2 separate regions of the Homo sapiens genome follow, and region 2 is linked to region 1. Evidence: promoter capture Hi-C in human tissues and cell types (Jung and others, 2019). All regions are on one chromosome and are shown on one strand. Each heading gives the region's core, a stretch centred on a gene start or on the middle of the fragment in contact. The rest is flanking DNA. Distances are from core to core; before and after follow the strand shown. Region 1 holds the start of PLXND1 (plexin D1). Region 2 overlaps HMCES (5-hydroxymethylcytosine binding, ES cell specific).

Evidence for each region. Contacts are between HindIII fragments. The study calls those that stand out against the background at their distance.
Region 2: a fragment that was not itself captured here is called in contact with the fragment with the promoter of PLXND1 in region 1 in 1 of the 25 tissues and cell types used here (adrenal gland).

What each region holds. Positions count from the first base shown.
Region 1 is chr3:129,602,673-129,609,355 of GRCh38, forward strand. PLXND1 (plexin D1) reads right to left here and starts at 4,004. Exons shown (of 36, transcript NM_015103.3): 1 at 2,657-4,004. The coding sequence starts at 3,967. RefSeq lists enhancers at 263-1,255, 2,248-3,240, 4,233-5,225, 5,226-6,216 and silencers at 534-828, 3,963-4,022, 4,173-4,332. The HindIII fragment of the contact is 25,180 bases long and covers 1-6,683 here.
Region 2 is chr3:129,298,904-129,305,167 of GRCh38, forward strand. It overlaps HMCES (5-hydroxymethylcytosine binding, ES cell specific), which reads left to right. Exons shown (of 7, transcript NM_020187.3): 6 at 3,047-3,239; 7 at 5,686-6,264. The coding sequence ends at 5,922. Among named protein-coding and RNA genes, the nearest start is that of H1-10-AS1, 14 kb to the right of the region's middle. The HindIII fragment of the contact is 3,010 bases long and covers 886-3,895 here.

The sequences.
Region 1 (6,683 bases), core at 2,754-5,253:
TTACAGCTGCAGAACAAGCCAGATTAGGCAACTGCTCTCCAGGACCAAGCAGAGACCTGTGCTAATAATGTCCCTTAGAGTAATAACAAGAAGAACTGCCATCTGCTTGGTGCTTACTGTGTACTGGGTACACTGAGCTGCATTTATCGATTCATCTAGTCCTTAAAACAATGCTTTGGGATAAGGATTGCTTTTACTGTCCCCACTTCACAGATGAAGAAACTGAGGCCCAGAGAGGTTAAGTTCCTTGGCCAAGGTCACACAGCTGGGAAGTGACAAAGTGGGACTTGAACCCAAGCAGCCTGATGCAAAGTCTAGGTTCTGAATCTGTCGCTGCATAGCTGGCAACAGCCTGGAGCAAGAATAATGATCCCTCCCCCACCCCTGCCCATGCTAGAGGCCCAGACCGGGGACCTTGAGCACCTCTGGGAGATACTGCCAAGTGGCACTGGCCTGTGCCCACAGCGGGCACGGCGAAGAGGAGAAGGGTGTGGAAAACACAGGGAGGGTGACCAAGGAAGGCCGCAGCCGGAATCTGTGGCCTTGGGGTGGGGAAGAGGCCCTTCGCCACTCTGTCCTGGGGCTGTGTCCCTGGAGAGGCCCTGTCCCCTTAGGTAGAGAAGCTCCAGCCCCCCTCAGCTGGGTGAGTCACTGCACCGAGGGAGCGGACCGTGGGAACCAGAATGGTTCTTGCCAGAGGGGGAGGGAACCCTGGGCTGGCCTAAGGAATCCCACAGATCAGCTTACACCAAAGGGCCGAGACACAGGGCCTGAAACTACTGGAGGAAGGCCCTCAGTCCACAGGACACTTCTCTCCATTCAGCGACTCCCCACTGAGACCCCCAGTGCCAAACACAGTTGCCTGCGAGATGAAGCTCTGGGGTGGAGATGGTGGATGAACCAACCATGGCACAGGGCAAGCAGCCCCACCACCCTTTGGACTGTCTGCCCTGCTCACCCACCGTGACCTTTACTTTCAGGGTGGCCGGCCAGATGGTGGGCAGTCGTGGGAGACCGACCTCGACCTTGGGAGAAGGAATCTGCATTTTCTCAAAGCCCCAGTGTTGGGCCCGCCCACAGAGGAATGGTTAATCTCATGAAATTCTTGTCACAGCCATGGAGAAGGGACAGGGTGGGGCCCCAAGGAAGGCTTGGGTCACCACAAGAAGGCTGAGTTCTGCATTTTGCTGATGGAGATGCAGCTTCCTAAGGGAATGGCAGGCAGTGGAGCTGAAGTGGGCTCGCCAGACTCAGATGGGTGGAGGGTGTGGGAAAGGCCCCAGTGTCATTCTGGGGCCTCATTCCTCAGGGTGAACTATGGGGATCAACAGACCCAGCTCCCAAAGCCAGTGTGAGGAGCAATCCCTTGCCATGAACTTCCTTTCAGGGAACCACACCAAGTCCCCTCCCGCACCCTTGTCATGTCAACACACATGCTGATTCCGTCAACCTGGCCCCCCTTGCTACTGCCCAACCCAGCCTCAGACACCTGGGCCCCATGCCTGCCTGTACTCCTCCTCATTCCCCACTGAGCCCCACGGCCCTCTCCTGCCCCCAAAACACCCCTGTTCACATCCCTCCATTCTCCTGGCCCTGGCATCTGCCCACCCCAGCTGCCTGGGACGCCCCCAAAACACACGCACTCTGAGATCCAAGTCCAGAAGGCAGCAAAGGCTGGGCATTAAAAACACAGATGCTGAGGCCAGACAGGCTGGATTCAAATCCACCTCTGCTAGTGCCCAACTGTGTGATCCTCAGCAAGTTGCTTAACCTCTCTGTGCCTGTTTCTTCATCTGTAAAATGTGATGAGAATAGAGGCTACCTGAGAGGGTTGTTCTGAGAACTGGGAATTGTGACATGTGATGCCCCTAGCTGGCACTCCACAAGTGCTATTGTTTACCCCAGACTCCCACACCTGGTACATACTAGGTGCTCAGGAAATATTTGCAGAATAGGTGAATAAAAGTTGGCCTCAGGCACACACCTGTTTGCCAACCATGCAGCCTCCTCAGAGTACCGACTCATGCCCAAATACCTGCGTCCCCTGCCACGCACATCCCACTGCACACCTAGCCCTGTCCCGTTGTACCAGTGTCTGTGCAGTACACCTGTCTGCCCTGTGCGTCTTCAGGCCCCAGCTTGCTGGCACACAAGTCCATGCAGACATCTGCAGGGCCCTGGTGCACACCTGTGTGCCTCCTTGCACACCTGCCACACCCATGCACCCATCACCAACGTGCAATGGTAACTCTGACAGGCTCACGCAGTGGCCCCAGAACACAACTTTGGTCAGGCATGCAGTCACTTACTGCGCCCTCAGCATGCACCTGTGACCCTCACGTGCATACCTGGGCTTTATGCGCACCTGGGTACCTGTGGCAACTTGGACCCCTCCCAGTACGCCTAGGTATGCGCGCCCATGAGCCGGCACTCACTTGAGTCCCTGCACATGCCCACCTGGGCCATACAGGCGCCAGTAGTACCCCTCGGGGGACACCTGTATTCTCGCGTGCACACCTGGGTTCCACGTACATCTGGATCTCTGCGCGCTCCCACCTGTGACCCACTCAGCTCACGACCCGCTCGGTTCCCGCCCGCCCCCGCCCCCGCCCCCGCCGCCGCCGCCGCCGCCGCCGCCGCCACCGCCCGGGTGTACCTGGATGTTGAGCTTGCGCTCACAGGCCGGTCCCGTGCCCTGCACCACGCTGTCGAGCACCGCCACCACGTCGGGCGCCGGTTCCACGAAGCAGGCGGTGCGCGCAGCTCGGATGGCGGCTCGCACGTCGGCGAAGCGGAAGGCGCAGAGTGCGGCCGGAGCAGCGCGGGCCGCGGGGGACCCCTGGGGCCGCTCGAAGACAGCAAAGAGCCGCTCCCGGGCTGGGAAGACCGACACCAGGCGGCTGTAGAGGTCGCCGCGGCCCGCGCCGCCCGCGCACTGCAAGCCCAACTGGATGTAGGACTCGGTGAGCTTCTTGGCGTCGCCGCCGGCGCCGTGGGGCAGGCAGATGCGCGCCAGCAGGCTCCGCGCCTGGCTCTCCTTGTCGCCCGCGCGCGCCTCGCTGTTGAGCGCCAGGTACGCGTAGGACTGTGCACCCGGCGGCGGGTCGGACGGGTGCAGGAAGGCGCTCACGAAGCCCAGCTTGTGCTGCTCCTTGGCGCCCTGCTTGATCTTGAGGATGTTGTCGTCGGAGGGGTTGAGGTCGAAGGTGAAGAGCTTGGCCAGGTCGCCGCGCGTGTCCAGGGAGCGGATGGCGATCTCGGGCGTGTTCTCGAAGCGGTGGTCCTCCAGGCTGCGGTTGCGCGGGAAGAAGGAGCTGCCGTAACCGGTGTACGTGGCGCCCACGAGCAGGCGGCTGCCCCCCGCGCCCGCGGCGGGAGGCAGAACTAGCCCCACGGTGGACGCGTTCGGGTGGTTGGCCGCCACGTTCAGCATGCTGGGGAACACCGTGACGGGCTCGGCGGGCGGCGCGGCGGGCGGGAAGCGCACGGCCACGGCCGAGATGTTGCCCCGGCGCCGCAGCTGGCAGAAGCCCTGGTAGATGGACCCGCACACGACTACCAGGCCCTGGCCGGGGTCCAGCTGCAGGATCTTGTTGTAGTTGTCCGTGAGGCGCCGCGGGTGCTCGCACGAGGCCTGCGGCAGCTGCGGAGCGTGACACAGCGGGCTGTCGGGCACCGGGCCCACGGCCGCCTCGGCCTCCAGGCTCAGGTTGGCGCCCGACAGCTGATAGAGGCGGTTGACGGCCGCCAGGTACACGGTCCCCGCCGCGCCGTCCAGGGCGAAGTTGTTGGTGGGCGTGGGCGAGGGGAACCGACGCTGGATCTCCAGGGCGCCGGCCCGCGCCGCCCCCAGGAGCAGCAGCAACAGCAGCGGCACCGGGCACCGCGGCGGCGTCTGGAACGGCGGGGGGCTGGCGGCGGCGGCCCGGGCGCTAAGGGGTGCGCCGCCCGCGGCGCGAGGAGCCATCCGGGCGTGCGCGGGCTGCGCGGCGCGGCGAGTGCATGGGGCGAGGCGCGGCCGGGAGCCGGGAGCCCGGAGGCGGCGGGAGGCGGGGGGCGGGCCCGGGCCGCGATGCGCTTCCTGCCCGCGCCAGCCGCCCCCGACCCCGGCGCCCGGGCCCGGGTCAGCCTCGCCGCGCAGCCCGGGGGCGGGGCGGGGGCGGCTCCGCTGCGGACACGCCCTCACTCCCCGCCCCGGCCCCGCCCGCCCCCGGGACCCCCGCCTGCCCCTGGCCGCCCTGGGCCACGCCCCGCCGTCCGCGGGTCCCGCCGCCCGCGCCCTCCAGGACCCGCCCGCGGCCCCAGGGTCCCTCCCCGTAGCCGCCGCCGCCGTCGCTCGCTCTCCTCGCTCTTTCCTCCCACTTGGCCGCTTGGCCTGCCTCGCTCGCGCCTGTTTTCTCTTTTCCGCCCTCTCCCCCACCCCGTCTCTCCCTCTCTCTGCGTCTCTCGGTCTCTGCGTCTCTCCGTCTCTGTCCCCACCCCAAACTCCGCGCGTGTGGCGCTTCTCCGGGTTCTGCCTCTGCTTCTCCTTCTCCCTCCGACTCCGCTTCGCTCTCCAGTCCCTGGCAGCCCCGCCCCCGGCCCTTTCTAGTCTCCTTCTCTCTCCTGCTCCGTTTTTCCGTCCCTGACGCTCGCTCCCTCTCTCCGTGGCTCCCTCTGCCTCCCCCTCGGACCCTCCGTCCCTCTCTCGGTCCCTCTGAGCTCCCCTTTCCTTCTCCCTCTGCCTTCCCGAACCCTGTGTCTCCCCTCCACACTCAGCCTCCCTCCACCACCTTTCTCAGGCACTGTCCAGGCCTTCGCTCCCCCGGTGCCGGCCAGTCGGGCCCCCCAGACCCCATAATCTGTCCCCCAAACCCCAGACCCATAAAAGGGATTTACAAGTGGCAGGGCCAGAGGGACCAGTGCTCAGGGTCAGATATATAAATGAGGAAAACATGGAGAGAGGAAATAGTTCCAGCCAGTGGCCCACAACCGATAGCCAGAGCAAGGCCTTGGTCCTGGAGCCCACAGTTGCCTCCTGTGGAGACCCAGCCGCACCCCCACCCCTGGCACCCCCGCCAGGCACTTTCCCTGACATCCTCCCAGGCTTAGTGGAAGATTAGTCCCACAAAAGCCGGCACTGGGCAGGGTTCTTGATCTCAAAAGCAGCGTTAGGGGCAGGCAGCCTGGTTCCAAGGTCACAGCCCTGTGAGGACCATGCGCCGTGGCTGTTTTGCGGGGGTGCTCACACAGGGCTAGCCCGTGCCAGACACTGTGCCAAGCACTTGCCATGTACGGGCTCTCTTTTTCCTCACAGATTCCCCCGAGGCGAGCGCTATTGGTAACCCATCTTCCAGATATGGAAACCAAGGCTGAGGGGAAGGGACTGGCCCAAGATGCACAGCTCATGAGGAGCAGAGCTACAGTGTTTGAAAGCAAAAGCCCTTCAGCTCCGACCTCTCAGAACGGGGCCTCCCATCAGACCCCCAGCTTCCACAGGGTGCCCGGTGGGCCTCACTCTGAGAGTAGCGGGACCTCATTTTCCTCTTTCCCACCCAACCAGGAAGGAAGGGCAGGGGTGTCTGTGCACCATGGGGCCGGCAGGAAAGGCTGGGCCTGCAGCCGCCCCCCACTTCCCTCAACACCCTCGCCTTCCTGCCATCCTGCCCGCCTTGTTCCAGACCCCTCAGCCCTGGTCTGGCCACTGCTTTGATGGCCGGGAGTGTTGAGCTGCAGGAAATTGGAGGCCCCCTCCCAGGCCCATCCACCCACCAAGAGCCACTCAGGGGACTGCCCGTGGGACTGTGTCCCTGTCTTCCTCTCTGGATGGAGAAGGCGCACATCGTGCCACCCGTGGGGGCCAACTGCAGAGCCCAGCAGGGGTGCATGGGGCCTGCCTCCATGCCCCTCCTCCTCACTCACATCCTCAGTGCCCCCACCCCAGTCCATCCGCTGGTCTCTCTGTCTTATCTCTCTCTCTCCTGCCCCCACCCATCTCTGTTCCTATCTGTCTTGCTCCTCCCGTTCACTCTCTTTGTCTCTCCTTCTCTCAGTGTCTTGCCCCCTTCCCTTTCCACTCTTCATCTGTCTCTCTGTGTCTCTATCTCTGTCTCTCTCTCTGTCTCCCTCCCTATCCCTCACCCCCACTCCCTCTCCAGCCCCTCCTCTCTTCCTTCCTGTCTCCCGCTCATCTGGTTCATCTTGCTGCATCCTGCAGCTCCCCCCACTGAGCCGTGAGGATAATGCTCAGTGTTGTCTTAGACCAGCCTGTGGTGATGATCCTGGGCACTTGGGACACAAGCTCCCTGCCAAGCTGAGCAGTGGGGTTTAGGAGCTCTCTAGGTGAAGGGTATTCGGGTCTGAGTATCCTCACATCAACTGGAGGTGAGAAGTGCTGTGTGGTCTTGTGCAAGGCACTCACCCTCTCTGAGCCTCAGTTTCCTCAACTGTAAAATGAGGACAATCGTAGCAGAACACCTGCCCCTGGGAGGGTGTGAGATGGAGAATATAACATAACAGGTGTCAAGCACAACAAGGCTCTTAGCAAACACCAGTTTCTCCCCGCCTTGTGGCAGTGAACCATGACCCCTGAAGCCCATGTTAGAGCCAGGAGTTGGGGTGGGGGGCATTGCAACTAAAGACCAGGGCTCCACCTCCTGTCCTGAGCCCCAATGTGGCTAGCAGAGCCACCAGACGGTGAGAGT
Region 2 (6,264 bases), core at 1,141-3,640, 310 kb before region 1:
GGATGCTGAGGTGGGTGGATCACGAGGTCAGGAGATCGAGACCATCCTGGCTAACACGGTGAAACCCCGTCTCTACTAAAAATACAACAACTAAATTAGCCGGGCATGGTGGCGGGCTCCTGTAGTCCCAGCTACATGGGAGGCTGAGGCAAGAGAATGGTGTGACCCCGGGAGGTGGAGCTTGCAGTGAGCCAAGATCGTGCCACTGCACCCCAGCCTGGGTGACAGAGTGAGATTCCATCTCAATAAATACATACATACATACATACTACAATAAATATGGCACTTTACCTCGACAAGACCTGAAGTTTGCTTGTTGCTTGTGGAAGTGAGTGTTGGAAGAAATGCATCTCATGAGTTATTGTGAAGTTGTGGAAGGAAGGTTATGTAAAATTTTTTATCTTTTGCAGTCTTAAATCCTGGGGCACAGTTTTCCTCCTATGAACGTATTTCCTTTGAGGCATGCATTTGTAATAGATGCTATTTAATTAAAATTGAATATTTGATTCAATGTATAGCCTTCTCCTCCAATTAACTTCTGTATCACTGCTAGAAATTCTTTAGCGCATTTTCATCTGTACTTGTGGCTTCTCCCAATAGCAGAAAGCTTTGAAAATTGTCGCCATGTTCGAAACCAGTAAACTAACCACTACTAGCACTAAAAGGAGCCACTTGTGGTATTTAAGATTTTATTTATATATAGGCCTTATTTATATATTTTTTGTATGAACCTTATAGGTGCTTCTTTTTTTTTTTTTTTTTTTTTGAGACAGAGTCTCACTCTGTCGCCCAGGCTGGAGTGCAGTGGTGCGATCTCGGCTCACTGCAAGCTCTGCCTCCTGGGTTCACACCATTCTCCTGCCTCAGCCTCCCGAGTAGCTGGGACTACAGGCACACGCCGCCACGCCTGGCTAACAGGGTTTCGCCATGTTACCCAGGATGGTCTAGATCTCCTGACCTTGTGATCCACCTGCCTCGGCCTCCCAAAGTGCTGGGATTACAGGTGTGAGCCACCGCGCCTGGCTGGAGTACTTCTTGAAGTTGTTCCAGCCATGGTCATTTTTTTTTTGTAGCATCATCACTGATGTGGACTCCTTGATATCCTTTGCTCAGGAAATAATCACATGTTCTCATTTTTCTTCCAGGATCTTTTACTATTTCAAGCTTCTTTTCAATATTTAAAATGTCTCCATTCACATGCATTGCCTACCATGTTTTGAGCCAGGAAGCTTAGACATGTTTGAGATGTTAAATGTGCATCTTTATATATATATATATATATATATATAGAAAAGTTCAGAAAGGCAAAAGAAGAGCAAAACACAATTTTGTAAAATAGTATGCAGTGAGCCAAAGTAGCAGTCAGTGTTTGAGATGGGTGCATTTTGTGGCTCAGTTCATCTGGGTGCAGTTTTCTGTGTTCACCTTGTGTTTCTCACAGATGAAACTGTGCATAAGCAAACACAAAATTTGCATTGTGCTCCAATTGCTCTCTACTGTATCAGTGGCATTGGAACAGATTTGCATTTTAAACATAAGCATTGGCAGAACTGACTATACTTGTATTCTACCTTTATACTTTCTGCCAGAGCTGAGTACTCCCTGAAGTGATTTTTTGGAGTTCTCCTGAAAAGAATGCAGTGTGACACCTGTCAGGATTACCTGCTTTAGCCTTGTCCTAGGCTATATCTGTGAAAATATGCTTTCATGTGGCCAGGCGCAGTGGCTCACACCTGTAATCCCAGCACTTTGGGACGCCGAGGTGGGTGGATCACGAGTTCAGGAGATCAAGACCATCCTGGCGAACACTGTGAAACCCCATCTCTACTAAAAATACAAAAAAATGGCCAGGCGCGGTGGCTCACACCTGTAATCCCAGCACTTTGGGAGGCTGAGGCGGGTGGATCATGAGGTCAGGAGATCGAGACCATCCTGGCTAACACGGTGAAACTCTGTCTCTACTAAAAAATACAAAAAATTAGCCAGACGTGGTGGCGGCTGCCTGTAGTCCCAGCTACTTGGGAGGCTGAGGCAGGAGAATGGCGTGAACCCGGGAGGTGGAGCTTGCAATGAGCCGAGATCATGCCATTGAACTCCAGCCTGGGCAACACAGTGAGACTCCATCTCAAAAAAAAAAAATTAGCCGGGCATGGTGGTGGGTGCCTGTAGTCCCAGCTACTCAGGAGGCTGAGGCAGAAGAATGGCATGAACCCGGGGGGTGGAGCTTGCAGTGAGTGGAGATCACGCCACTGCACTCCAGCCTGGGCAACACAGCAAGACTCTGTCTCAAAAAAAAAAAAAAAGAAGAAAAAAAAAAAAATATGCTTTCATGTGATGTAGTTCTCTTTTAGTAATTAACCTTTAAAAATTATATTTCATTTAATCTAAATCACCATTCATTTAAAAATGTACCATTATTTTATACATTACAGTATTTAACATTATTTTATATGTTATGTATATATTTAGGAGACAAATGAACATTTGTCTGTATCTGAATCAACTGTACCACCCAAAAAGTGTGTGCCACACTGCATTGGCCTGGGACATAAAACTGGAAGCTAAACCTAGTATATTTTCCTTACATCCTCTGGGTACCAGGAGTCATGTTTGACAGCTTCTCTGCTTTTCTGACGCATGGCTTCCTTTTGTTCACAATTTTCTTACTGTAAGTCTTTCAGAGGTGGTGAGGCTTGAGATTGCTGTTGATAGACAAGTTTTCAAGATCTATTTTCCCTTCATTCTAGGCTGGGGTGTCATAGAAAGTTTACCAATTTACTAGAGTGGACACTGGAGTACACTAGACCAGTTAGTACTCTTCACTGTCTTTGCCATGAAACTTTATAACATGGCTCTCCAGGTGTTGAATCTGGTGCCCTGTCACCCTGTGCTCAGGGAACACATGGCAGCAATCAGCATGTGAGGCGCAGAGGGAGGGCAAGCTCCCCTTGTGATATTTGAGGTATCAGCTGACTCAAGTCTCTCTCCCTTCTCTCCTTATTCTCATGCTACCTCTCCCAACCATTGTCTTAACTTCCCTGGCCAGGATGCCTGCCATATTAGATGGAGAGGAGGCAGTTTCTAAATGGCTTGACTTTGGTGAAGTCTCAACTCAGGAAGCTCTGAAATTAATCCACCCAACAGAGAACATCACCTTCCATGCAGTCTCTTCTGTGGTGAACAACTCGCGAAACAACACTCCTGAGTGTCTGGCTCCTGTCGACTTGGTGGTCAAAAAGGTAGGGGCCTGTGACTGGTACAGTCCTTTTTGAGCTTTCTGTCTTCTGTCAGTGTTCTCTTTCTTTCAGGATGTGGCCTTTTATGATCAGCCCTTTAATTTGGACCATCAAAAGCTCTCATACTCCTTGTACACAGCAAGGTAGTGTAGAGCAGCAATTCTCAAACCTGGCTGTGACTCAGAGTCCCCAGGAGAAGAACTCTTTCAAAATGTAAATGCTAGACCCTATCTAGACATCCTGAATCAACATTTAGAGCTAGGCTTGGACTTTTGTATAATTAAGAAGCTTCAGGCTGGGCGCAGTGGCTCACGCCTGTAATCCCAGCACTTTGGGAGGCCGAGGCAAGTGGATCACGAGGTCAACAGATCGAGACCATCCTGGCCAATATGGTGAAACCCCGTCTCTACTAAAAATACAAAAATTAGCTGGGTGTGGTGGCCCGTCCCAAGTAGTGATCCCAGCTACTTGGGAGGCTGAGGCAGGAGAATCACTTGAACCTGGGAGGTGGAGGTTGCAGTGAGCCTAGATTGGGCCACTGCACTCCAGCTTGGTGACAGGGCGAGACTGCGTTTCAAAAAAAAGAAGCTTCAGCTGGGTGCAGTGGCTCATGCCTGTAATGCCAGCACTTAGAAGGCAGAGGTGGGAGGGTAGCTTTACCTGAGGAGTTCCAGACCTGCCTGGGCAATATAGTGAGACCCCGTTCTCCACAAAAAGGAAAAAAAAAAAAGCTTCTTTGATGAGTCTGATAAACCACATTTGAGGACTCCTAATCTAGACAGTGATGGTGAAAAAGACAAAGGAGCCCTTGACCATATTGTTTCTCCGTCCCCAACCATGATTTTTGGTGTCTCTTTTCTGTATCTTTGCTTTCCGAACTACAAGTTGCAGGAGCTCCAGTCCTTAGTCTCCTTCAGGAGGATTTGAGAGCATTCCTACCATGAACCTTAACTTCTTAGAATCAGCAAGGATCCAGAGGGTGTATTTTAGGAAGGGAAGGCAAACAAACAGAAGGCCTGCAGTGGGGAGAGAAGTTCCAGAGCAAAAAGCTGGCCCCCACTGACATTTGGGGGTAAGGATTTAGGAGTAGTGATTGTTTTTAGGTGGCATGGAGGGACTTAAAATAGGACATACTTGGAATGTTCCAAGAATAGACATTTTAGAATGCCGTGTTAAGGATGATTGTAAGAACAGCTGTCCCCCTCTCTATTTTTCTTAAAGTTTTTTCCATACCCACAGTGTCATCTTTTTTTCTTTTGTTTTGATTCTGATAAACTCCTGCAACCGTGGCACTTTTTAAAAATTAGATAACTCTAAAACTAATTCTATATACAGGTTGAATATCCCTATCCAAAATGCTTGGGAACAGAAGTGTTTTAGATTTTGAATTTTTTCAAATTTTGGAATATTTGCATTATATACTTCCTAGCCGAATATCCTAAATCTGAAATGTACCAACAAGCATTTCCTTTCAAAGTCATGTAAGCACTTAAAAAGTTTAGGATTTTGGAGCATTTTGGATCTTGGATTTTCAGGGTTAGGATGCTCAACCTGTATTCATTTTGGACTAGACGCTGCCCATTTCTGCCATGGTCTTTTTTTTTTTCCTTTTTCTTTTTTAGAGACAGGGTCATGCTCTGTTGCCCAGGTTAGACTGCAGTGGCATGATCATAGTTCACTGCAGCCTCGAACTCCTGGGCTCAAATGATCCTCCCACCTCAGCCTCCCAGGTAGCTGGGACTACAAGCGTACACCACCATGCCTGGCTCATTTTTTTAAATTTTTTATAGAGATGGGGTCTTCCTATGTTTCCTAGGCTGGTCTCAAACTCCTGGGCTCAAGCGATCTTCCCACCTCAGCCTCCCAAAGTGCTGGGATTACAGGCATGCACCACTGTACCTAGCCCTGCCATGGTGTTTACTCCAAAAGATGTCACATTCTGGAGAGGTGGCATTGTGCTAATTCAGAACCTTTCAGTTCAGGATTGGGGTGTGATGTAAAGGAAGCAGAAGGGAGTAGTGACAGTCAAGAAGAGGTTGTACAGATTGTCTGCACAAAGAGGAAACAATTTAGCCTTATCACAGTGGCTGTTAGAAATTCTTCTGTATCTCTCCAGTCTCGTTTTCCAACACTCCCCCTGGGTCATGCTGAATTACATTCTTTTCCCTGAGAATGCTTCATTCTCTGCACATTTGGAATGCCTTTCAGCTCTCTTCTCTGGCTGGTCCCACACAATCCTCTGTGAAACCTTCTCTAAGATCTACTTTCCTGCCCCTTAGAGCACACTCCTCTCTTTCCACTCTTGACTGGTGGGCCCCAGCTGGCCCTTAGTAACATTTTCCAAGCCTGGGTAAGTACCTAATGCCTCTTCCCCTGTTTCTTCCCTTGGACTTGGCCTTTTCCCAAAAGCTTGAGCTGTATGGTTTGAGCTTTTTCCTCTTTCTTGTAGGAGCTCAGGGCAAGTGGCAGTAGCCAGAGGATGTTGCAGTGGTTGGCCACAAAGTCACCCAAAAAGGAAGACTCAAAAACACCTCAAAAGGAAGAGTCAGATGTTCCCCAGTGGTCCAGTCAGTTCCTGCAGAAGAGTCCACTCCCCACCAAGAGAGGCACTGCAGGACTCCTAGAGCAATGGCTGAAGCGGGAGAAGGAGGAGGAACCTGTGGCCAAGCGTCCTTACAGCCAGTGACACAGGACTTTCAGAGACCAAGGCCAGGGTCTGCTGCACTGCTGTTCTGATAATAGGTTCTTAACATTGTATGTATATGTGTTTGCTTTGGGAGGAGGTGGCACTGTGTTAGTTGACAGTTGTGGGCTCATGTAGTCTTTTTTGCCATGAGTAGGAGCCCCTAGTGGGGCTGGTGGACAGCTTTGGAAGAGGTGTCCTGCTGCTGTTACCAGCCATGTGGGCCCCATAGGGGCACTGCGCCTGCTGCCCTTTCCTGGCAGGGCTGGTGGAGTCTTCCCTCAAAGCATGCCTTACCCAGCTGGGAAGTCTCTGCCCTGATCTGGTACTCCTTGTAGTAAGCTG